2 separate regions of the Homo sapiens genome follow, and region 1 is linked to region 2. Evidence: promoter capture Hi-C in 16 types of primary human blood cells and fetal thymus (Javierre and others, 2016). All regions are on one chromosome and are shown on one strand. The core of a region is centred on a gene start or on the middle of the fragment in contact, and the rest is flanking DNA. Distances in the headings are between cores, read along the strand shown.

What was found. Contacts are between HindIII fragments. The CHiCAGO score rates a contact against its expected background, and 5 or more counts as called.
Region 1: a fragment that was not itself captured here is called in contact with the fragment with the promoter of EXD2 in region 2 in 1 of 17 cell types (M0 macrophages); the score reaches 5.1 in M0 macrophages.

What each region holds. Positions count from the first base shown.
Region 1 is chr14:67,878,094-67,884,129 of GRCh38, forward strand. The region is part of intron 5 of RAD51B (RAD51 paralog B); the gene reads left to right. Among named protein-coding and RNA genes, the nearest start is that of RAD51B, 61 kb to the left of the region's middle. The HindIII fragment of the contact is 1,782 bases long and covers 3,613-5,394 here.
Region 2 is chr14:69,189,519-69,194,905 of GRCh38, forward strand. It overlaps EXD2 (exonuclease 3'-5' domain containing 2), which reads left to right and starts at 1,980. Exons shown (of 10, transcript NM_001193360.2): 1 at 1,980-2,073. All of the region lies in intron 3 of GALNT16-AS1 (GALNT16 and EXD2 antisense RNA 1), which reads right to left. RefSeq lists a silencer at 2,201-2,390. The HindIII fragment of the contact is 2,229 bases long and covers 476-2,704 here.

The DNA.
Region 1 (6,036 bases), core at 3,254-5,753, 1.3 Mb before region 2:
CTTTTATGTCAATATCTTTAATCCATCAGAAATCCATTAAGGATATATTTTAAATTTTTGTATAAACTGCCACATTCTCCTCTAGAAATATTTTACATAATTGTATCTCAACCAATAGTACTTTGAGAGCCTTCATCACTGTTTTTAGTTTCTTTAATTTTGTCATACTTGCGGGAAAAAAGTGATAGCTCATTGTTTTAACTATTGTGAACCAACATCTTTTCATATATTCATTGTCCATTTATATTTCTTTGGCAAATTACCTAGAAATACACTTTGTCCATTTTTTCTTATTGATATATATAAATACTTTGTGTATTATGGATATTTATGTTTATATGATTTTTTTCCTGGGCTATAATTCTATAATTTATCTTTCAACTTTGGTTATGCTATCTTTTGTTATCTATGATTTCTTTGGTGGTTGATCTTTCAGATTTTGCTTTATGGCTGTAGTTTTTAAAGTTTTAATTTTCAGGGCCCTTAAACTCTAGGTGGATTATATCAATTGATATTTATCATATTAGGAATTTAAACTGGAAAATTTAAAGAATATTTAACTATTATCTATTATGCAGTAAGTCCATTACATGGTATGTGTTTTTTTGTGTGTTTGTTTTTGTTTTTGAGATGGAGTCTCACTGTCGCCGGGCTTGAGTGCAGTGGTGTGATCTTGGTTCACTATAACCTCCACTTCCTGGGTTCAAGCGATTCTCCTTACTCAGCCTCCCGAATAGTTGCAATTACAGGTGCCCACCAGTGCGCCTGCCACCATGCCTGGCTAATTTTTGAATTTTTAAATTAAAGACGGGGTTTCGCCATGTTGGCCAGGCTGGTCTCGAACTCCTGACCTCAAGTGATCTGTTCATCTCAGCCTCCCAAAGTCCTGGGATTACAGGCGTGAGCCACTGTGCCTGGCCATTACATGTTAGCATATTGTACCAAACAGGGCTCCATTAGGAAAATAGAACCAGTAGAACATATATTAAGAGAGTTATTGCAAAGAATTGGCATATGCAGATGTGGAGTTGTCTGAAATCCATAGGGCAGGCTGTTGGAAAGGGCAGGCTAGAACTCTCAGGCAAGGGCCTAAGCTGTAGTCCATAGGTGGAATTTCATCTTTTTAAAGGAAGTCTCAGCTCTGCTGTTAAGGCTTTTCAAGTGATTGAATTAGCCCACCCAGATTATGTAGGATAATCTCTAGTACTTAAAGTCATCTGTTTATGGACATTAATGACATCTACAAAATCCTTTCATAACAATGCATAGATTAGTGTTTGATTGAATAACAGGAGACTGTGGACTAGCCAAGTTGACACAAAACTGACTGTCATATATTTTTTGTTTGTTTTTTGTTTTTTTTTTAAGAGACAGGGCCTCGCTCTGTCACCCAGGCTGGAGTGCAGTGACATGATCATAGTTCACTGTAACCTCCAGCTCCCGGACTTAAGAGAGCCTCCTGCCTCAGCCTCCTGAGTAGCTGGGACTACAGATGTGAGCCACTGCACCTGGACTTTACATGTATTTTTTATGGAAAATAAATACATTTTTGACTAAAAAAAGTGAAAAAAGAGTGGCGTTGTTTTATGTTTTTGCAAATCTCTTTAGTGTCTGACTTAATAGAAGACAGCCTGATTCTAATATCTGCTTCTGCATTCAGTCTGTTGCACTCTGTTGTTTTGGTTGAGATATGAAGATCTGGCCTTATACTGGTTATAGTTGGAAAGGGAGGAATATTTTAATAGTCTCTTCAGATAATTAAAGATATGCTTCTTTGATACTACACCAGGAATTGAGTAATAGTTGCTTAGAGGTTAGTTGTGATATAGAATCTGAAACCATATTATTGCATTTTTTCTACAGTTACATTAAAATCTATTCATCTGTCTTAGGCTCTTAATGGATATTTACCTATGCATGATTTTGTAATATTATGCATTTATCACTCAGAAAATATTGGTTCACTGTCTTATGGAGTTCTAAATGTTGACACATTTTATTACTCAATATAAAAAAATTTCATTAGTATCTCCACTGATCTGAACAAAAAGTATTTAAGTATTGGGATGCAGTCAAACTCATGGTAGCAGATGTAAGTTTTTTAGGAATCTGATTTTTCATTAAAAGCTTGAATTTTATCATTGGCAATAAATATTGCCACTTGTTTTTCTTGAAGTGTCGGGCTTACTTTGCTCATTTTGAGAAAACGTCTACCAAATACTTAAGTCAGAAAAACCATAACTTATCTATCAATCATTCTTTCAAGTAAAAATGGTCTCCCATGGAAAAAGTGACTTCTTAGTCTGAGAACCCAATTGTACAGATGTTTTTCCTTGAGACAATGGTTGTACTTCAGAATGTAGTAGAAGTGCTTCTATTTTGTCAAACAGAATATTAAAAATATGTCTGTGTTCTAATAAAACTCTATTGACAAAAACAGGCAATGGGCCATAGTGCACAGTTTGACAACCCCTGCTTTATTTAACTCCTTGAGCAAATGTAGAAGATTAATAATAGCCGTTTTGAGGTTTTTATCCATGAATGCCATCATATATATAATTTTTTAAATCTGTTTTTATTGACTGATTTTTCTCCTGGTAATGGATCTTTTCCTCTTCCTTTACTTGTCTGGTAATTTTTCAATTCGATGTTAAACATTGTAAATTTTACGTTGTTGGTGGGTGCTGGATTTTAACATATGTTTTTCAAGAGTGTTAGGTTTTGTTTTAAGGTACATTTTAGTATTAGTTTGATCCTTTTGCAGGTTGCTTTTCTATGTTGTTATGGAAAAATCCCAGGTACAGTCATGCTTCGCTTAACAATTGGGATATGTTCTGAGAAATGCATTGTTAGGCAATTTCATTGTTGTATGAACACCCTACAGTGTACTTACATGCACCTAGATGGTATAGCCTACTGCGCACCTAGACTATATGGTATAGCCTATTGCTTCTAGGCTATGAACCTGTACAGCATGTTACTGTATTGAATAGGCAATTACAACACAATGGTAAGTATTTGTGTATCTAAACAAAGGAAAGGTATTGTAAAAATATACTATATAAGCTTATGGGACCACTGTTGTATAAGTGATGCATCATTGACTGAAATGTCGTTATGCAGCACATGACTGTGGTTTTTTATTCTGAAACTTATTTAGCTTCACTACTAAGGTAAAATCCTTCTGAAAATTCTGCCCAATGCCCAGTGTATAATAAGGTCTCTTTATTCTTCACCTTGTGTAAACCCGAACTGTTCTCACCCTGTGTGGGCACTAGGAAGTGTTCAGTCTGATACTTTCTGGTGGTTCTTTCCTCAACCTCAAGTAGTTTCCCTTCACACATGTGCAGATTAGTTCTCAAGTGGCCCTCTCTGCAGATCTTTGCAGTGCTCACTCTGCACACCTGCTTCCTCTCTGGTACTCTGCCCCATAAGTTCTAGCCACCTTAGCTTTCCCAAACTCCGATCCCCATCTCCTCAACTCAGGTTGTCTACCAGGCTCTGTTTACTTTCCCTTTCTTGTGTTGCAGCCTGGAAACTGCCTCTGGAGCAAACTGAGGTGATTGTAAGCTCATTGTGTTTGTTTCCTTTCTCTCAAGGATTACAGTCTCAAGCTTTCTATTGTTCAGTACCTGAAAACTCTTATTTCATGTATTCTGTCTGATTTTCTACTTATTATTTTAGTGCAATTCATGTACCAGTTAATCCTTTGTGGGCTAAAGTGGAAATCCCTTCTTTCATTCTCTCTTGAGTTCACTCTATCCAGGCTTAAGTTTCCAGCTCTATAATGCAACTGATTTAAAAAATTTTATCCAACCCAATAGCAGCATTCGAAAGAGTTGATCACTCACTTTTTCTTGAAAAGCTCTCTTCCCTTGACTTTTTATTTTTTTAGACAGGTTCTCACCTAACTCTGTCACCCAGGCTGGAGTACAGTGGTGCTATCATGGTTCACTGCAGCTTTGACCCCTCAGACTCAAGCAATCCTCTCACCTCAGCCTCTCGAGTAGCTGGGACCACAGGCATATGCCACCATGCCCAGCTAATTTTTTAATTTTTAGTACAGATAAGGTTTTGGTATGTTGCCCTGGTTGGTCTTAAACTTCTGGGCTCAAGAGATCCTCCTGCCTTGGCCTCCTAAAGTGTTGGGATTATAGGCATGAGCCACCATGCCCAGCCCACTTGGCTTCTTGGAACTATTCTCTCTTCTTTTACACCTACCTTCTTGGTCACCTCCTCCTCTCAGTCCCTTTTGCTGGATCCTCCTCATCATTTTAACTTCTAGGCTTTGGGGAATCCCAGAACTCAGTCCTAGGACCTTTTCTCTTCTATATCTGTACTCAATCCCTAATATCATCTGGTCTTATGATCTTTAAAATCTTTTATAGGCTGTAACTCCTATTGATATCTGAATTCTGAGCTTTCCCATGAACTTCAGATTCATATTCATTTGCGTAATGACATGGAACTTGGATAGGTTTACATACATGGATTTCCTGATATGTCCAAAACTGCATTTTTGTTTCCCCCATGAAGGAAATAAAACATGCAAATAACACCAATAACCAAAACCTTTATGTGAATCTTGTCTTTTCTGCTTCAATAAAGTTGTGATTCCATTCTTCTAGACACTCACCCAATTAGTCAAGAAATTCTTTCTTTTTTTTTTTGAGACGGAGCCTCACTCTGTTGCCTAGGCTGAGTGCAGTGGCGTGATCTTGGCTCACTGCAACCTCCATCTCCCAGATTCAAGCGATTCTCTTGCTTCAGCCTCCCGAGTAGCTGGGATTACAGGCGCCCGTCACCACACCTGGCTAATTTTTGTATTTTTAGTAGAGACGGGGTTTTGCCATGTTGGCCAGGCTGGTCTTGAACTCCTGACCTCAGGTGATCCGCCTGCCTTGGCCTCCCAGGGTGCTGGGATTGCAGGCGTGAGCCACCGTGCCCGGCCAAGAAATTCTTTCAGCTCCTCTTTTGAACTATATCTTGAGTCTAGTTACTTCTCATCACTTGACCTGTTACTTCCCTGGGTGAGGTCACTACCAGCTCTTAACTGGTCACTACCAGCTCTTATCTGTGCTAGCTGATCTCCTTGCTTTCATTCTTGCCCAAGCCTCTTCTCCATTGGGCAGTTAGAGCAGTCCTTTTAAAAAAAGAAGTCAGATCATGTTGTTCCTGCTTCTAGGCTTCCTATTTTGCTAAATAAAAGCTAAAAAAAAAAAATACCACTTTAGCAAAAAAAAAAAAAACAAAAACCACAGACCTAAAGGTCTTATGTGATCTTGGCCTTGGCTAGCTCTTTGTTTTCTTTTATTCTCCCTCTTACTCTCTGTGTTCCAGATACTTTAGTCTCTTTGTTGTTTCTCAGACACACCAGGCATCTTTCCACATGTAAGCTTTTGCACTTGTTATAATTCTCTATTCTTGTGTGCTGTTTCACTGGGTATCCACATGGTTCATTTTCTTATCTCTTTTAAGCTTTTGCTCAAATGTCACCTTATTAATAAGGCTTTGTCAGTTCACCTGACATAAAATATAAAATAGCGCTAGCCCCACCTGTCACATTCTATTCTCTCATCCTGCTTCATTTTCCTCTACAGCCTTATTACCTCATATATAATATATATTTATTTGTTTGTCTTCCTCAGTAGAATTTAAACCCTATGAGGTAAGGGCTTTTCTTTTTCTTTTGGTAGTGGTGGTTGTTCATTGCCATATTCTCAGCACCCAGAACAGTGCCTGGCATATAGTAGGTCCTCAATAAATATTTGTTGAATGAATGGATCTTAGTGCTCATTTTGAAAAGAATGCTTTTTATAAACAGATATCCACTAGATGGCATTATTTTCAAACTTTATGTAATTAATGTCTGGGAGCAAATGATAGGTTATTTTCTGTTTTTTGCCCTAAACAAAAAAGATCTTTGCAATGAAGATTGTCACAAGAAGTTACTAGGATGAATGTGAGGCATGTCGAATATTGCATTTATATTTGGTTTTTGATTTATATATTTTTAGATGTTTATTATAAAATAAA
Region 2 (5,387 bases), core at 730-3,229:
CTTTGGGTTAACAAACTTTTCACTCCTTTACTATCATTTTTAAAAACCCTTTTATCGAAGTATATATGAAACCAGAAAAGTGCTCACAAATATAACCTGAACACACATGTAAAGCCGCACTCAGATTAAGAAATAGAACATTATCAGCACTTCGTGAACCTCCTCATGTTCCCTTCCAGTTATTACTACCCTAAGATTAATCATTATATACAGTGACTTCTAATAGCAGGGATATTTGGGTAGTTTCCCGTTTGGGGCTGTTGAAAGTATGGGTATGAGCTTTTTTTTGTACATGTCCTTTTGGTGAATACATGCAGACATTTCAGTTGCATATATATAACTAGGAGTAAAATTGTTTTTTGTTGTTTTTGTTTTCGAGACAGGGTCTAGCTCTGTCACCTATGCTGGACTGCAGTGGTGTGATCACAACTCACTGCAGCCTCAAACTCCAGGGATCAAGACGTCCTCCTGCCTAAGCTTCTGGAGTAGCTGGGACTACAGGTGCACACCATGATGCCCAGCACTTTGGGAGGCCGAGGTGGGAGGATCGCTTGAGGCCAGGAGTTCAAGACCAGCCTGGGCAACACAGTGAAAATCCCTAAAGTGCTGGGATGACACGTTGAGCCACTGTGCCCCAGCTAGGGGTGAAATTGTTGGAACAAAGTCTTTTCACATATTCAGATTCAGTTGATACCGCCAAACAGTTAAACAAAGTGATTGCATCAATTTATGTTCCCTTCAGGAGCATATGAGAGTTGTGGTTGCTCCACAATCTTGCCAATACTTGACATTTTCTTTTTCATTTAGCTATATCTCATTGTGGTTTTAATTTGCATTTCCTCTTTATCCTTTGTTTTTTAAGTGTTTCAAGATGGAGCAGATAAAAATTCAGGGAGTTAATCCTCTATAATAGCTGGAAATTTCCCCCATGGGTACTCATTCAATGGAATTTAAAACATTTGCCCCTGTATTGAAGGCAATATAGTATAAAGGATGGGGCCACATGCTCTGCAATCAGAAATATGAGGTTTGATTCCTAACTCCGGTGCTTACTTGCTGAATTACCTTGAGGAAGTTATTTAACCTTTTTCTATTTTATGTAAAACGGCACTAATAATAGTACTGCCTCACAGGGTTGTTATGGGGATTAAAGGAGAAAAAATAAGTAAAATGCTTTGCAAAGTTCCTAGCAACAGGTGAGCACAAAGTCAACAAATGGTAGCTATTATTATACCTTATATTGGTTATTTATGCACATCTCATTTCTCCTTCTGTTTTACACATTCCATGAGAAAGGAAAAGCATGCATGTAGCACAGATTAACTGCCTCACATATAATTGCTAATAAAGACTGATTGGATGAACGATTTAATATATAAACAAAAAGTATTGTGGTTATCGCTATAAAAGATGGCATAGGTTGGGCATTCACGCCTGTAATCCCAGCACTTTGGGAGGCCGAGTTGTGAGGTTCGCTTGAGCCCAGGAGTTCGAGACCAGCCTAGGCAATGTAGGGAGACAGTATCTACAAAAAAAAAAAAAAAAAAAAAAAAGGAGGGTACATAAAATTATTATAGTGGCTATAGGATAATGTGCACTGCTAATGAAGACTACATTATTTAAATACAGTGTCTTTCCTTCTATTTACTGTTATCGTTTAGCAGAAAAACAGTACGCAGGATACTAAAGAAGGAAAATTCGATGTCCCATATTACATTTGTGAGAGTTCTGGAGGTTTCTCCCTTCAAAGCCAAAACCAAAACACAAACATACCATCCCAGTAACAAATGCGTCACTTTTCTGAAGAAGACGTTAAGCCCTTCCAATTTTAACAGATCCTTTGTTCAACAGAGGAGAGAGACTGGGTAGGCATCACCTGCCCCAGTAGCTTCCGTACAAAATGGCGTTGCCCGTTCCCACACGCCAGCTGGGATTACGTCCTCCAGGCCTGTCGCAGGAACGGAAGTGGTTACGGCCCTAGTGAATCCGGGTGGGTGCGCGCAGGCGGCCGCACAGGTTCCAGGTCTTTAACGTGAGCCCGCTGCAGGTGTGCGGCCCAGTCCGAGACAGCAGGTAAGTGAGGCTCAGAAGCCGGCGAAGCCTTGCACCAGGATTGTGCGCGGGGCAGGGGGTGCTTCCAGTGCAGACTAAGAGGGGTCGTGGAGCGGGGGGATATTACCGTGTACGGGGGTGACATTGCGGGGCCCCCGCTGTCCCGGAGCGAGTTGGCCCTGCCCCTCTCCCCGCCCCTCGGCGTGACCCCCTCGCCCCCGTCGCACACGGCGGGGCGGTTCAGCACCCAGGTGCGCAAGGAGGGCCTCACCCCTGCCCGCGGCCTCCCACGCCCTCCTTGGGCCTCTCCTTTCGACCCCCTTACCCTCTCCCTGGGAGACTCTACCAGACCTTCGAGGCTGCGTGTCCCAGTCAGCTAAAAAGGAGGCCCCGCCCGCGGCACCTGGTAGCTCCTCGGGCGCTGCGGGTTCGACGCGGCAACAGCTGCTGTTTTCTCTCCTGGATTCGTGTGAGCCGCCACCCTCGCTACCATCCCTGTCCTCCCAGACCACACCCTGCTCTGGGCCTTGCCGGGAGCCACCTCTTTGGCTTTTCACATCCCTGGGATGGATCAAAACTAAGAACCTTAATCATTATTTATTACAAAATTGACATCTGCTCCTTAAAATACAAACAAACCAATCCCCCGATAAGCTTTTGATATGATTCCAACATTCAAACTCCTTTATATACCCTCTCCTCAAAAACACAAAATTGAAATTATACTTTATTTTCTTAGTTCTGTTCCAAGGATAGAAGGAATTGAAAGGTTTTGTTAATCATAGGAATTAGGAAGTGCGGGTTGGGGCGCAGCGGGGAAGATGGATTAAATTTGGTCAAGTTGAGCTTGTTTTAAAAATGTATTTTTAAAATATTCTAGTTATAGTCCGTGCATAAAGCCTTGTAACAAAATTATGTAAAAATTTTAAACACAGATCTTTCTTAGCTTGATGTTCTTGGTGGTGAGGGTGGGGAGTGTGGAAGACAGATCCTCTTTGATTTTGTTTTTTTCCATCTCCACCTTCTTTACCAGTCCCTTTCCCACAAAATAAGAACTGTTGTCAGTTTGTGTGTATTTTTCTTTGCATTTATTTGACAAGTATGTGTACGTATAAGATATATGTTTGTAAGATTTCGCTTTAAACTTTTACAAATATGCATGTTTTATGCATTACACAACTTGACGTTTTATGCTTAAAAACGGGTCTTGGAATTTTTTCTTTGTCAGTACCTAGAGATCTACCTATTCTTTCTACTTGCTCTGTAAATTCCATGGTTATGTAAGATTCCATAGATTGTTTCCAGTTTTTCATTGTTAGACACAGTATGGCGGAGAACATCCTTCCCACACACCTCTGTGAGAGCCCATGTGAGAGCATTTCTCAAGGATGGGTACCTGCAGGTGGAATTGCTGGGTGGGAGAGTATGGGGATTTAGGAATGCCAAACTGCCACCCACGGTGGATAATAATTTCCTCCATTCTCTCTCTCTTTTTTTTTTTTTTTTGAGACAGAGTCTTGCTCTGTTGCCCAGGTTGGAGTGCAGTGGCGTGATCTCAGCTCACTGCAGCCTCTGCCTCCCAGGTTCAAGCGATTCTCCTGCCTCAGCCTCCCGAGTAGCTGGTATTACAGGCACCCGCTACCACGCCTGGCTAATTTTTGTATTTTTAGTAGAGACGGGGTTTCACCGTATTTGCCAGGCTGGTCTCAAACTCCTAAACTCGAGTGATCCGCCTGCCTTGGCCTCCCGAAGTGATGGGATTACAGGCGTGAGCCACCGTGTCTGGCCCACCATGCTCTTTTGATCATTTAATGGTATCGATCTTTTTTGTTTTTGCCAATCTGATGGATGGAAAAGTGATTTCTCTTTGCTGTTTTAATTTGCATTCCCCTGATTACTATTGAGATTGAACATCTTCATGATTGTCAGCCATTTGTATTTCCTCTTTTGAGAAACATCTCTTTCTATTGGATTGTCTTTTCCTTATTGATTTATAATAGTATTTTATATGTTCTGGATTTTGATCTTTTGTTATTCATATGTGTTTATAATATTTACTCCCTGCTTATTGCTTTTTTAAGTTGTTGCTTGTCTTTTAACTATATGGCATCTTTGTTGAAACAAAGTTTAAAATTTTAGGTTTTAATTTATCAGTCTGTTATGTGTGTGTTTGTATTTTGTGGCTATCATTCCCAATCCGAGTGGTTCTTAAATGGCAGAGATTTTTGCTCTCGGGGTTATTTGGCAATGTCTGTAAACATTTTTTGTTTGTTCCACTAGGATGGTGCTGCTATTGGTTATCTAGTGAGTAAAAGCGAGGGTGCTGCTAAACATCCTACAGCGCACGGGAAAGCTTCCCACAACAAAGAATTTCACCAGCCAAAAATGTCAGTTGTGCTGAAGTTGAAAAATCCTTCTCTACTTTTAGAGAGAGGAGGGTTTTCTCCTAAAGCTCTGTTTTCTCCTTGAAGTTCTTCTTGTGGGAATAGTTTTTTTTCTTTAATTCCTCTGGAATTGTGTGTGTGTGATTGTTGTTTTCCAAATACTGTCACCTCGAACAGTCAGTCCATTCTTTTTTTTTTTTTTGAGTCAGAGTCTCGCTGTGTCGCCCAGGCTGGAGTGCAGTGGCGCGATCTCAGCTCACTGCAACCTCTGCCTCCCGAGTTCATGCCATTCTCCTGCCTCAGCCTCCCAAGTAGCTGGGACTACAGGCGCCCACCACCTCGCTTGGCTAATTTTTTGTATTTTTAGTAGAGATGGGGTTTCACCGTGTTTGCTAGGATGGTCTCGATCTCCTGACCTCGTGATCCACCTGCCTCGGCCTCCCAAAGTGCTGGGATTACAGGTGTGAGCCACCGCGCCCGGCCTAGTCAGTCCATTCTTGAACCATTAATCCGAAATGCCACACTTACCATGTACTAATTTCTTTTTTTTCTTTTTAATTTTTATTTGTAGAGATAGAGATGAGTTTTTGCTATGTTGTTCAGGCTGGTCTCAAACTCCTGGCCTCAGGAGATTCTCCCCCATCAGCCTCCCAAAGTTCTGGAATTATGGACATGAGCCACCTCGCCTGGCCTCATGTGCTCATTTATCATACAGGATCTGTTTCTAGACTGTCTTCTGTTCTATGGCATACTTTTCTATTTTGCTGGACCAATACCACAACATCCTATATTAAACTATATGTTATATGTTGACATTAATAGGGTAAATACTCCATCATGATTATTATTTTATTGGAAGTCATATACTATATCAGCTCATGTACTCTCATTTAAAAAACAATATTTTTGGTTATTATTAGTTTCTTTTCCAGATTAATTTTACAGTCAACT